4 separate regions of the Homo sapiens genome follow, and all the other regions are linked to region 4. Evidence: promoter capture Hi-C in 16 types of primary human blood cells and fetal thymus (Javierre and others, 2016). All regions are on one chromosome and are shown on one strand. The core of a region is centred on a gene start or on the middle of the fragment in contact, and the rest is flanking DNA. Distances in the headings are between cores, read along the strand shown. Region 1 overlaps MICAL3 (microtubule associated monooxygenase, calponin and LIM domain containing 3). Region 2 overlaps MICAL3 (microtubule associated monooxygenase, calponin and LIM domain containing 3). Region 3 overlaps BID (BH3 interacting domain death agonist). Region 4 holds the start of TUBA8 (tubulin alpha 8).

The links. The method cuts DNA at HindIII sites, captures the fragments that hold promoters and counts their contacts. A CHiCAGO score of 5 or more calls a contact.
Region 1: a contact is called between a fragment that was not itself captured here and the fragment with the promoter of TUBA8 in region 4, in 1 of 17 cell types (naive CD8 T cells). The highest score is 5.3, in naive CD8 T cells.
Region 2: a contact is called between a fragment that was not itself captured here and the fragment with the promoter of TUBA8 in region 4, in 2 of 17 cell types (naive B cells and total B cells). The highest score is 7.2, in naive B cells.
Region 3: a contact is called between a fragment that was not itself captured here and the fragment with the promoter of TUBA8 in region 4, in 1 of 17 cell types (erythroblasts). The highest score is 5.1, in erythroblasts.

What each region holds. Positions count from the first base shown.
Region 1 is chr22:17,803,195-17,806,253 of GRCh38, reverse strand. The region is part of intron 29 of MICAL3 (microtubule associated monooxygenase, calponin and LIM domain containing 3); the gene reads left to right. Among named protein-coding and RNA genes, the nearest start is that of LINC00528, 27 kb to the right of the region's middle. RefSeq lists enhancers at 603-1,441, 1,442-2,282, 1,277-2,476. The HindIII fragment of the contact is 3,985 bases long and covers 1-3,059 here.
Region 2 is chr22:17,840,565-17,843,677 of GRCh38, reverse strand. It overlaps MICAL3 (microtubule associated monooxygenase, calponin and LIM domain containing 3), which reads left to right. Exons shown (of 32, transcript NM_015241.3): 20 at 1,661-1,856. Among named protein-coding and RNA genes, the nearest start is that of LINC00528, 65 kb to the right of the region's middle. The HindIII fragment of the contact is 7,527 bases long and covers 1-3,113 here.
Region 3 is chr22:17,736,724-17,739,775 of GRCh38, reverse strand. BID (BH3 interacting domain death agonist) reads left to right here. Exons shown (of 6, transcript NM_001196.4): 4 at 288-427; 5 at 1,547-1,759. Among named protein-coding and RNA genes, the nearest start is that of MIR3198-1, 26 kb to the left of the region's middle. The HindIII fragment of the contact is 7,459 bases long and covers 1-3,052 here.
Region 4 is chr22:18,109,529-18,112,431 of GRCh38, reverse strand. TUBA8 (tubulin alpha 8) reads right to left here and starts at 1,623. Exons shown (of 5, transcript NM_018943.3): 1 at 1,564-1,623. The coding sequence starts at 1,566. RefSeq lists a silencer at 1,457-1,846 and an enhancer at 1,927-2,126. The HindIII fragment of the contact is 5,564 bases long and covers 1-2,903 here.

The DNA.
Region 1 (3,059 bases), core at 91-2,590, 310 kb after region 4:
CCTGAACGGTGGCAGGTGAGCACTATGCTGCAGGCCAGAATTTAAATAAACAAATGAATAAAATGTCCTCTTCACTAACACATTTACAGGGAGTTCAGCCACTTACACACAGAGAGAGGCGGAAACTTGATCCTGAGGGCTCCACAAAATCAAGCTCACCTGGCAGCACAAATTATTGGGTTGATGGTCTCCAGTGGGTGAAAAGTTGGCATATAAAACATTTGGGCCGGGCGCGGTGGCTCACGCCTGTAATCCCAACACTTTGGGAGGCCGAGGTGGGCGGATCACCTGAGGCCGGGAGTTTGAGACCAGCCTGACCAACATGGAGAAACCCTGTCTCTACTAAAAATACAAAAAATTAGCCTGGCATGGTGGTACATGCCTGTAATCCCAGCTACTCGGGAGGCTGAGGCAGGAGAATCGCTTGAACCTGGGAGGTGGAGGTTGCGGTGAGCCGAGATCACGCCATTGCAGTCCAACCTGGGCAACAAGAGCGAAACTCTGTCTCAAAAACAAAAACATTTGAAGGTGGTGTGTCTTATTTTAATAAGGGCTCTTGAAAGAGCTACAAGTATTTGTACATCAGGTATTTGGGAGACCCCTTGGAATGCCTTTGGAAGAACCTTAGGGTTCCACAGAGGCTTGAAAACCACTGTCGTAGTGCAAACTCCTTCCTTTAGATGAGTCTTCAGCAGATATCTCTATCCAAAGATGTTTCTGTTCTGTTTTTCAAGATGGGCCTTAGTAGCTCTGTTGGGATATTTCGTTGTGATGCATTTGAGAAACTCTCTGGAATTTTCAGGAATTATGGTTCCTACCATAAGAATATAAGAATTTCCAAATATGTTCCTTCTCTTACGTGAATACATCCCTTCCAAGCTGGTCTCCCATCACAGTTCCCCGTGGCCCTGCCCCTCCTTGGCCGATGCCGTCTCTGAAGCCCAGGTGTGCGTGCTGCTGCTGCTTTCTCTCCTGCTTCTGCGTCCCGTTCCTCTTCTTAGTCTTGTGGCACCTGGCTGAGCCCTGAAGAAGGCAGTGGCAGCTGGGCATGATAATAATCTGGAGTCTTCTCATCATGGCAGTCTGCCCTTCCCTGGGGACTGTAGTAAACTGGCTGGAACCTGCCATCATCTCACTTGGGGGTCTCCAGCTTCCATCACCGTCTGAGGGCGTCAGACTTTGTTAGCCAAGCTGCCTTTCCAGAGAAGCGCTCTAGCATGGACCTGCCATCCCGTTCTCCGTTTGTCTAAGGTATGACGACGTATGGCCAGGCTGCAAGGATTAGCTTCAGCACCTTTGATCCTAGGGCCAGGCCACAACTTAGGTAATTTCCAGTCCTGGGGCACCTGGGAAGCCTTTTTGTTACAAAAACACTGACTCAGCCTTGAGCATGCATTGAAAAACTGGGGCAGGACCGCATTCTACCACTGTGTCTGCTGTGTCACTCTCAAGGGGAGGCCCTCAGGTGGGACCGGAGGCTGTGAGGATCTGCATTCAGAATGCGGGGTTTGGAGAGAGGGCAACACCATGGCGGCCGAGTGCTGTGCTCTGTGTGTCTTTATGATTCTGGGGAGATGAGGACCGCCTGCTCAAGCCCAGCCTCTCGGCAGTGCCCAGTCTGCATCTCAGGCGTGGAAATTACATAGCGCTCTTGGCCAGACAGCTGTGGAACTACCAGGCTAGGAGTGCCCCAGGCCAGCACACCTCCAGGAGCCTTCGGCCGAGTGCCTGGGGGAAGAACTCTGCATGAGTCTCTGCTCGTTTCCTGTTGTTAAGAAGGCCGACTGAATTTGGAGGCCTAAGCCTCGAAACAGGATCCCCTTTCTCTCAAACCCATTCGGCAAAAGTGGGTCTGCAAGGCATTTGATAGAGTCAGCAGTGGGGTCGTGGGAATTCCTGGGAGAGCACTGACTGCACGAAACCTAAGGATTTCAGAGCTTCTGTAGGACGTTTGCCTCCTGCCTCCAGGCCCTCAGCCTGGGGCTTCCAGTATCAGCAACTGACACGCAGGCAGCCCCGCTCTATTAACTCTTAGTTAGAGAAGGTTCAGTCCCAGGGGCAGGAGTTCCCAGCAAAGCCAAAGCCTCTGTCCTGGCTGATCCCTGGTGTACGTGGGATCATGTTGATAGTGACCATTGACTCCCCACAGTGAGTTTTAGTTACCGCCCTCCTCCCGCAGCCACGCAGTATGCAGATACGGCATGTGTGGACATGCAGTATGTGATGCACTTAGGCACGCATGCCTTCCAGCCGTTCCTCTGCCGCCTCGCTGTGTCTGTGTTTCTTGCGCTCCATATCATTGATTGCTCCATATCATATCATTGATTGGGTATGGGGGGACAGGAGGACTACCTGATGGAATAACTCTCTCTTCACCGATTCCTTGTTGTAGACTATTGGGGAGAGTCTTATTACAGTGACCTCATCGACTTGCATCTGGGTGGTATGTATGGCAGCGCCTGTGCTGACACTAACCCCGCTGACGCCCTTTCTCCACCCACGCTTCCCAGTCCCTGCTCACAAAAACAAGGAGAAATCAACCCAATAACCAAATGGCAAAAGCACAGACCCTTTTCCAGCTCAAAACAGAGCAGCGTGCTGATCTCCCCGCTGCCCACATGTGCTCCAGAGGAAGATCTGAGCTTGCTTTTGCTGCCTGGGGTCGTTTTTAATTTTTTATAATAAAACTTTGCCCACCCGACTCCACCAGCCTTGCATCTGCGTCCTGGTCCCCTAAATACACACACTCCAACACAGCTTTTGCCCTGAATCTCATCCCTCACTGCTTGTAGGAATCATATCTGCTAGGGAGCTCACTGCCTGCCACACTTACGCAAAGAAGCAAACATGCCAAGATCTCAGCCCGACCATTTTCACTGGGTCGTGGTCTCGTTTCTCCCAGAAGAGCTGAGTGCGAGGGAAAGGCTTCTCTGTAGTGATTTCTGCCCGGAGTCACCAAACTCAAAGCCAGGTTGACGGGTGCCCATAACAACGTCCCTCCCTCCTTGCTCTGTCCTGGGGCTCACTTTGTACTTCTTTTCAGTGAAGACAGGAAAAGC
Region 2 (3,113 bases), core at 338-2,837, 270 kb after region 4:
CCCAGGTGGCAGGCGTTAAGTGGAAGAGGAAGGTGACCGTGTGTGTGGGGTGCAGGGTCAACACGCACCCCCACATGAGTATGTGTGCATCGTGTCACTCGGTGTCCATGACGGCTCTGGGAGGTGGGTGGTGCCATCATTTATCTATCAGGAAACGAGCTCTGAGGAGTTCTGTAAATTTTCTAAGACCCTTCAGCCAACTACTGGTGGAGCCAGGCATCTGGAAGATGAGGAAATCTGACCTGGGGTTGCCCGCCTCCACCTGGACCCGGTGCTACTCACATTACAGGGGACACACCAGAGGACTCATGACAGCCTCCTCTGACCAGGATCAGGAGGACAAGGGACGTCAACAGAGAATAGTGGTGATGATAAGGGAGGCAGCAGAACTGTTCCATGTTAAAGGAGACCAAAGCACAGTTGTAAAACACATTTTCAAAAATCCGAGTCCATAGCAGTACTTGAAAGTATAAAGTTAAAAATGGGAAAAGTGCTTCTTTACCAAAGAATGGTAGTGGAGGAGGAGTGATGGGATTTTTTTTTTTTTTTTTTTTTTTGAGATGAAGTCTCGCTTTGTCACCCAGGCTGGAGTGCAGTGGCGCAATCTCGGTTCACTGCAAGCTCCGCCTCCCAGGTTCACACCATTCTCCTGCTTCAGCCTCCCGAGTAGCTGGGACTACAGGCGCCCGCCACCGTGCCTGGTTAATTTTTTGTATTTTTAGTAGAGATGGGGTCTCACTGTGTTAGCCAGGATGGCCTTGATCTGCTGACCTCGTGATCCACCTGCATCGGCCTCCCCAAGTGCTGGGATTACAGGCGTGAGCCACCGCACCCAGCCAGAGTGATGGGATTTTAAAATCACCTGGTGTGACGCCCTGTGCACACAAAGGACTCCGGCCAAGATCGCCGACGATGCTGAAACCACAGGGTGAAAGGACGCAGGCAGGGCACCCCGTGGCTTCAGAAGCCCACGGAGGACTGATGGGGAAGTGTGCCTGTGCATCGCAGAGAGGCCTGGGTGCCACCTCTGTGAGCGGTCGGGCCTGGTGTCCTTCCTCTGAGCAGCGGTGCTGCGGTAGGGGCAGCATCGCCCACGTGGCCTTATGAAACCGAAAGTGCCTTATCTAACTGTGAGGAGACAGATCCGCAGCATGAGACGTTCTTCAGGCAGCTGGCCAGGCCCCCTCAGTGGTGGGGCACGTGCCTGGTGGGGACTTGGATCCCGGGGCAGGCATTGGGGGAGGCACCTGGTGGGGGCCTGGATCCCTGGGGCAGACTGCACCGGGGATGCCCTTCTCAGGCAAGGCTGCTTCAGGGGCACCTGGCTCCTGGCTGCCTGCGGTCTGGCCCACACCCCTCACCACCAGTCACTCTTGTGGGGAGACTGCGTCTCCCCTCTGGGGGCCGGGTTCAGGGTGATGAAGGAGAGAGAACGCTCTGACCTGGAGGGCAGACAGGGCCACCTTCCTTTCTCCTGCAGAGTGAAATTCCCTCTCACATGCCAGGGTCCTTCTCTGGCCTCTGGCAACTCTGCAAATGCTCTGACCTTTGTCCTGCCCCACATTCTGGCAGGAGGGCCTGCAGCCTGGGTGTCAGCCCCCACCCCCACGCCCCGTCTGTGGTTGGACCTCAGTGCAGTGCTTCTGTGCTTGTCCCGCAGGTTCAGGCGTGAACGGCCTGGAGGAGCCCAGCATCGCCAAGCGACTGAGGGGCACCCCAGAGCGGATCGAGCTGGAGAACTACCGCCTGTCCCTGAGGCAGGCTGAGGCACTGCAGGAGGTACCGGAGGAGACTCAGGCCGAGCACAACCTGAGCAGCGTGCTGGACACGGGCGCCGAGGAGGACGTCGCCAGCAGGTCAGCACGCAGGGCTGCAGGGCGCCCACCCGCCACACGGCCCTAAGAGCCTCCTCACCTCTGTGTGTCTCGGTTTCTTCTCAGTGAAGGGAGGCCTCCTGTCTTTCCTGCTGCCCGCAGTCCATTCTCCCCAGTCCCTTTTAGGTTCTTAGCCTCATCTTCTAGTCAGTGAGGACTCCTCCATCAGACTCAATTCAGAGATTCAGGAAGTATTTATTCCTTGAGGACCTGACATGTCCCCAGCTCCAAGTCTGTCATTGGGAAGGAAAGTGGCAGGCTCTGCCCCCGGGTTATTCACAGATTCAGCAGAGGGAAGGACGGGCACACGGGGAGGGACTCTGGGTGATTCAGCCACCAGTGCACCGGGCCGTCTTGAGGGAGGCCTAGTCCGTCCCCCAGGCATCTTTTTTTCTCCTGTAGGTAAAGAAAGGGACTGAAAATGTGTGCCCCAGGGGCCGCATGCAGCACCAGTGGATGCATGCTTAGGCAGTTCCAGAGCTGTAATCACATCCAGCTGGGTGACACCTTTGGGGATGTGCATGCTATAACCCTAGGACTCCCTATATCCACTGCCCTGCACCCCAGGGCTTCCAGTATCAGCGAAGGCTTCAAAGTGTTCAGCCGATTACAGATGATCAAGAGAGCCAAGAATCAAAAGGGGGTCCGGTGTCCTGTGGGGCTTCAGGACAGAAACACAGGCTGCAAACCCGAGGGGCAGAGGCCTCAAGTGGCCTTGGAGAGCATTTGAATCACACACCTTGATTTAGCCATGATGAAGGGAACATGTGGGGATAAGGAGAGCAGAGCAGTTTTTTTAAGGTCCAAGAACGCTTTCCAGAAGGTGTTTGCTGGGCCGAGCTGCTTTCAGCTGCACCCGCCACCTCAGCCCTCATGTCAGACACCCTCTGCCTAGATTCATTCTTGGGCTGCCTCACAGACCGCTCCTCCGTGCATGCCGGGGGCAGCCTCTGCCTTGGTGTCTGCAGTTCCAAAGCTGTCACTGATGGTGCATCCTCATCCAGAACTCTGCTTCCCTATCCAGAGCACCCATGGAGGCCCCACTCTCCCCACTGTGCCCAGATGAGGGGGAGCCCACTCTCTCTCTCCACTGACCCTGCAGTGAGGGTGAGAGATGCTGTGTGTCAAAACACATTTATAAACCCTTGAGCAGAGCTACTGGCTTGACCTTGGGCTGAGTGTGGGTCAGCACCATTTTCTCCACTGTAATTTATAAATTGTGAGAGGCAGTGGGGCAGC
Region 3 (3,052 bases), core at 266-2,765, 370 kb after region 4:
GGTCGTGATGCCCCAGCTTCACCGGCCCTGCCTGTGGGGACGTGGTGCCTGTGTGCGGGAGCCTGGGCCTCAGCCGAGGCCCTGAGCTCCGGCACTGCCCAGAACCCAGCTCAGCGCTGGTACTCAGCCCGCCCGCTGTGGCCCTGGTGGAGTGGAGCACGTGCCCAGTGGGGGCTGGCCTTGTCCCATCGCGGACCTGTCCTTTCCCGGGGCAGGGTGGTGTGGGAGAGGGTATCAGGGACATTTTCTGAGTCTGCTCTGTCTCTGCCGCCCCTGCCTGAACACAGATTCTGAAAGTCAAGAAGACATCATCCGGAATATTGCCAGGCACCTCGCCCAGGTCGGGGACAGCATGGACCGTAGCATCCCTCCGGGCCTGGTGAACGGCCTGGCCCTGCAGCTCAGGAACACCAGCCGGTCGGAGGAGGTGAGTGAGGGCCTGAGGACCGCGTGGGCGGGCAAGTGAGCCAAGGGGGCCTGTCCCCTGCCTCTCACCAGGCAGCCCACTGTCCCGTGAGGCCACTCAACTCGTGACTGTCAGGTCCAGAACTCTGACGAAGTAACTGGACGTAGGGTATGGTTCATTGCCTTGCAGAAGATTTCAGCTGGTTGACATCGAGGAAACCTGAACCTTAAATCAGAGTAAAGAGTTTAGGGGTAAAAGCCTCTAAAAGATGAACGAAGCATGTTTGGCCAACAGAAGAAACAGACGCTTCCTTTGGTTGTAGGGAGTTTAATAATGGTGCCAGTGAGAACCGTAAGCCCTGGGAGTGGTGCCTGCTGCTCTGCTGAGCTCCTTGGTTGGAATCCACACAACTTTCTGAGCTCTACCATCTGCTTGGCACTGTTGGGGATACAAGATTGGTCCGGGGCACTGTGTCCCCAGAACACTTAGCGGAAAGAACTACATCCTCCCAACTGCCAAATGCAGGCCTGTAGCGGTAGGAGCTGAGAGGAGAGAAAGTTCCACTTTTTCGACTCTACCAGCTGAAAATGCAGGCGTCCTCACCTCCTAGAAATCCAATCATGCTTCTGTTCAGTGGGGCCAGCCTGTGATGTCCCAGCAGCTGCCTAGAACGCAGGAGTGGCTGGCGCACTCCCATGTAACTCTGCATGTGCGCCGACCGCCTGACGGTCCTTGCCAGCCTTGTAGTCTGTCTAGTGTCCCCCAGGAACCCCCTTCCTCCTGTCCATTCAGCTAGGTCTGCACCAATAAAATGGGCCTAAGGCGTCGCAGGTGGTCACTAGTTCTGGACTCGAAGTGCCTTGGGCGCAGGGATGACCCAGGCTTCTTGTATCCCATCACCGTCTAACAGTGGGCACATGGGCTCACCACACATGCGTTTGCTTACCGAGCCCCCTGCAGGGAGTGATTGCAGTCTTCCCTTTCCATTGCCTCTCAGAACTCAACTGTTTCTCATTCTTTCCGCCCAGCAGCCCTGGATACTTAATAAGTACTTTGAAGTGCTTCTTCATACTGGGGACTGTCTTTCCTTTGAGAGGGAAGAGTATTAGTAAACCAGGTTCTGTGTGCCCCTCTGTGCAGGACCGGAACAGGGACCTGGCCACTGCCCTGGAGCAGCTGCTGCAGGCCTACCCTAGAGACATGGAGAAGGAGAAGACCATGCTGGTGCTGGCCCTGCTGCTGGCCAAGAAGGTGGCCAGTCACACGCCGTCCTTGCTCCGTGATGTCTTTCACACAACAGTGAATTTTATTAACCAGAACCTACGCACCTACGTGAGGAGCTTAGCCAGAAATGTAAGAACCCTTGAGGTCAGCTCCTTCCCTGCCTGCCGCCCATGCCCTTTTCTCTGGAAGGTTGAGAAGCCCAGCGGGGCCCCTGCCTCTGATGCCAGCACAAGGGTTACAGGCTGTCCTGCTCGGGTTTGGTTTTGCTGTTGTGAGCTAGAAAGCTGTGTGTAAAGGTGACGAAGAGCACCCAGAGTCCTTTGGAGCTTTAGCAGCTTACTATTGGAGACATGCTCCATTCAGAGGGGTGGCAAAGGCTCACGTCACACTCCTGGTGGGGTCCTCAAGGCACAAGCAGGTACAGAGTGGAAGGAAGGGGCTGGAGGGCTCACAATGAGCTTTTCAGACCTCTCACCTTGCCATAAAAAATAAGTGTAATGTGGCCAGTGCGGTGGCTCATGCCTGTGATCCCACTGCTCTGGGAGGCCAAGGCAGGTGGATCACCTGAGGTCAGGAGTTCCAGACCACCCTGGCCAACAGGGTGAAAGCCCGTCTCTACTAAAATACAAAAATTAGCCGGGCATGGTGGCGCACACCTGTAGTCCCAGCTACTCAGGAGGCTGAGGCAGGAGAACTGCTTGAACCCTGGAGGCAGAGGTTGCAGTGAACTGAGATCGCACCACTGCACTTTAGCCTGGGCGACAGAGCAAGACTCCATCTCAAAAAAAAGGTGTAATGTGAACCAAAACGAGTAGTCAAAAAAGGGGGGGAACTGTCTGAAATCTTTTCCAGAGCACATCTGTCCCATAACCAGGTATTACAAGTCACAGTCTAAAGGCTGGGCATGGTGGCTCAAGCCTGTAATCCCAGCGATTTGGGAAGCAGAAGCAGTGGGATTGCTTGAGGCCAGGAGTTTGAGACAAAACTGAGCAACATGGCGAGACCCTGTCTCTAAAAAATTTATAAAAATAATTAGCTGAGGGCCAGGCGCGGTGGCTCACGCCTGTAATCCCAGCACTTTGGGAGGCCAAGGCAGGCGGATCATGAAGTCAGGAGTTCAAGACCAGCCTGGCCAAGATGGTGAAACCCCGTTTCTACTAAAAATACAAAAAAAATTAGCTGGGTGTGGTGGCGGGCGCCTGTAATCCCAGCTACTCAGGAGGCTAAGGCAGGAGAATCGCTTGAACCCTGGTGGCAGAGGTTGCAGTGAGCCGCAATCACGCCACTGCACTCCAGCCTGGATGATGGGGTAAGACTGTCTCAAAAAAAAAAAAAATTAGCTGAGCATGGTGGCGTACGCCTGTAGTTCACGCCGTCATGGAGGTTGAGGCAGCTCCTCAGGAGGCTGGGGCAGAAGGATCT
Region 4 (2,903 bases), core at 374-2,873:
AGATATTATAAATATTAAATATCAATTCTAGAGTATGCAGCCTAGCATTTGCTTCAAAATTATGGAGGGAGGGAATAAATGAAGTGAGACAGGTCAGAAGTTGGTAATTATTGAACTTAGATGATGTATATAATCGCTAATTATACCATTTGCTCTCCGTTTGCATATGTTTGAAATTCCCTACCATAAAAAGTTTAAAAATAATGAAATCTAAGTGGAGTCTTGGAAATTTGAATTATAACCCTCTTCATTTCGCAGGTAAAACAAACACATCCAGAGAGGTTAAGTGACCTTCCTGAAGTCACACAGCTAGCTGCAGAGCCAGGAGTCAAAATTCTGAACTGGCAGCTCCGGGCCCTTTGTGTGGCCTCATACCAGGGTCCTCAGGCAGAAATAGGTTCCTGTGGCCACCCTCCCTAATATTCCCAAGTTCTTTCAGTTCCCAGGGGTGTCTGGGAGCCCGCTAGGAGGAGGGAGGGTGCTGACAAAACTGAAGCTGGAAGGCTAGAGCTCCGGGGGAGCCAGGAGGCCCTGGGCACGGGCCAAACGTAACAGGGCGGGGCGGAGGGGGTTCTCGCCTGCTTTCTGGATCACTGACACCTGGAGCAAGCCTGCCCAGGGAACCCGACCTTGGCCATGACATAGGCTTATTCTGCCCTCACTCTGCCCCCAATCTTTCCAGCCCATCTCCCTACTGCTGAAAGATCAGGGGTCCAGGAGGGATTCCTGGGATTCTGGGCTTTGGGAAAGTGGACTGGGGGCAAATGTTAACCACCAGGGGCACTGGGGGCGGAGAGGGGGACCCTAGAAAGAGGAACTGAGTGTTTGCAGCCGCCCCTCAGTAAGATCCAGGGGCGGGGGCAGGGAAGGGAGCAGCCGCGATCCCCCTAAGCCAGGGTAGGAAACAGGTCGAAGGTCCCCTGGCCTTTGGAAGCAGAGACTTCTTACTCCCAAAGTCCTTCGACTCTGACCGCTGGAAAGACTTGGGAGCTGCTGAGTGCGCCCGGAGGACCCCGCCGCGCTGGGGCTGTGCGTGCAGCAAACCCAAGCCGCTGGCCAGGCTTGCGAGAAAGACCTCCACGCGTGGGGGGACCGTGGCGCCCTAGGTCCTCTGTCACATTCCGGGCCCTGTCACATTAGGCTGGGTTCGGAGACGTGACTGCATCTGGCCCCCCAGTCGCCCCGGCCCAGACCACCCATCCAGAATCCCCGGACTCGCCCTTCTCTCCACTCTGTCCACAGGCTGCCCATCTGGGGACCCCAGAATCTCGCCCCCTTCTCCGTCGGGCTCCCCAGGGCCTCCCTCCCCCTCGTCTGCACGCAAAGCTCCCTTAGGTCCCTTTAAGGAACAACTGGCCCCTGGTCTCTATTTCCCCCATACGATAAAGGGCACCGGGTGTTCCCGCCCGAGGGTGCGGACTCCTCGACCCTGAACTGCCACCCCCAGAAGGCCTTGAGCCCTGCGGCTCCAGGAAGACGGGTCCGTGCGCCTCCGCGTAGACTCGGCTCTCGGTCCTACGCCTGCCGCGCGCCCGCAGCCCGCCTGGCCCCGGGAAGCCTCACCATCGCTGCCGCTGTCCTCGCCCGCGCACCTCTCAGCTGGGCCTGCCCGCCCCGACTGCTCCAGATACAGCCGCCTCCGCCGTTGTGACACACCGGGAGGGGGGGACGCCGGGGACAGGCGCGCCGGGCCCGCAGCTGCCCCCCGGCATCACAGTGCCGGGGAGGGGCGGGCAGGTCACAAAGGCCCCTCCCCGCCCACCCGCGGCTCAAATCTCCGGGTCCTCGGTCCCGCCTCAGCAGCCGGGGGCGCTCGCAGCGGGGACTGCGCCCGCGGGGGAGGCTGCCCTATTACCAAAGCGCACGTGTCCACGTTCCAACACCGCCGGCGAGAGCAGCCTTCGTGACCCCAGCTGCCGGAGAAAGAAATGTAAAATGCAGCCAGGCGAATCGCGCGGGTCTCCCCAAACTTCCGTTCTCCTCCGACCCGCTGGAAAGGCTCCTGACTGGGGTGCAGCTGACCGGAGCGGGCTGCAGCGGGCCCGGGTGCCAAGGTGCCGTCTCAGCTGGGCGCCCTAGGGCCGTGTGTGCTTGGCAAGCTGCAGGGCCTCTGCTCCCAAAGCCTGTGCCTCCTGCCGCCAAGGCCCGCCTGGTTGCTGGAGACGGAAATGAGATGGCATACACAGAGCTCCTGGTACAGGCAGGTGCTGAAGACTGTTCCCGTTTTTACCCTCTCCCCGGATACCTCGCACCTCCACCGGGATTTTCAAATCTCCCCCCTTGATCCCTTCCTACTTTTAAGCCCCAAACGTGTCCAAGTCACATCTCCTATGTAATCCAGAACTCATACCAGGGTTCCCCTGCCTCTGCCCAGTAGTAAGACCCGCCAGATGCTGTTGGTTGCCCCCTGCTCGGGAAGGGGTGGGCACTTGGTAAAAGCCCCTCTTCACACTTTAGATGTTGGCCACGTTGTCACCCTGCCCATCTCCCCTCACTTCCCCCCAGGTGGGTGAGGGGCTGGATGGTCTTTGTTCCTTGTTCTCACTGCTGTTTCTTGTTCTTTCCCTCCAGTGGTCAGTTCCATTCATGTTGAAAGGTGTACCCCAGCCTCTCTCTTCCACTTTCCTCAGCACCAAGCCAACGCAGGCAAATTCATAGGTTTTCCTTAAGACAATACCACTTTAGCCAGACGTGGTAACTCCCCAAGTTTCCAAGCACAGTTAGAGATCTTCCTACCCTTCTGCTCCTAAGACATGCCTGCTTGTGGCCAATAGAGAATGAGAGCAGATTTCTGCTTACCTATGCGGCAATCTGTTCTGTTGGCCACCCATTCATAAACGATAGTACATGTGTCGTAATCATCTTTGCATTTGAGAGAGTACCAAACACAGTGCTTTACCCAC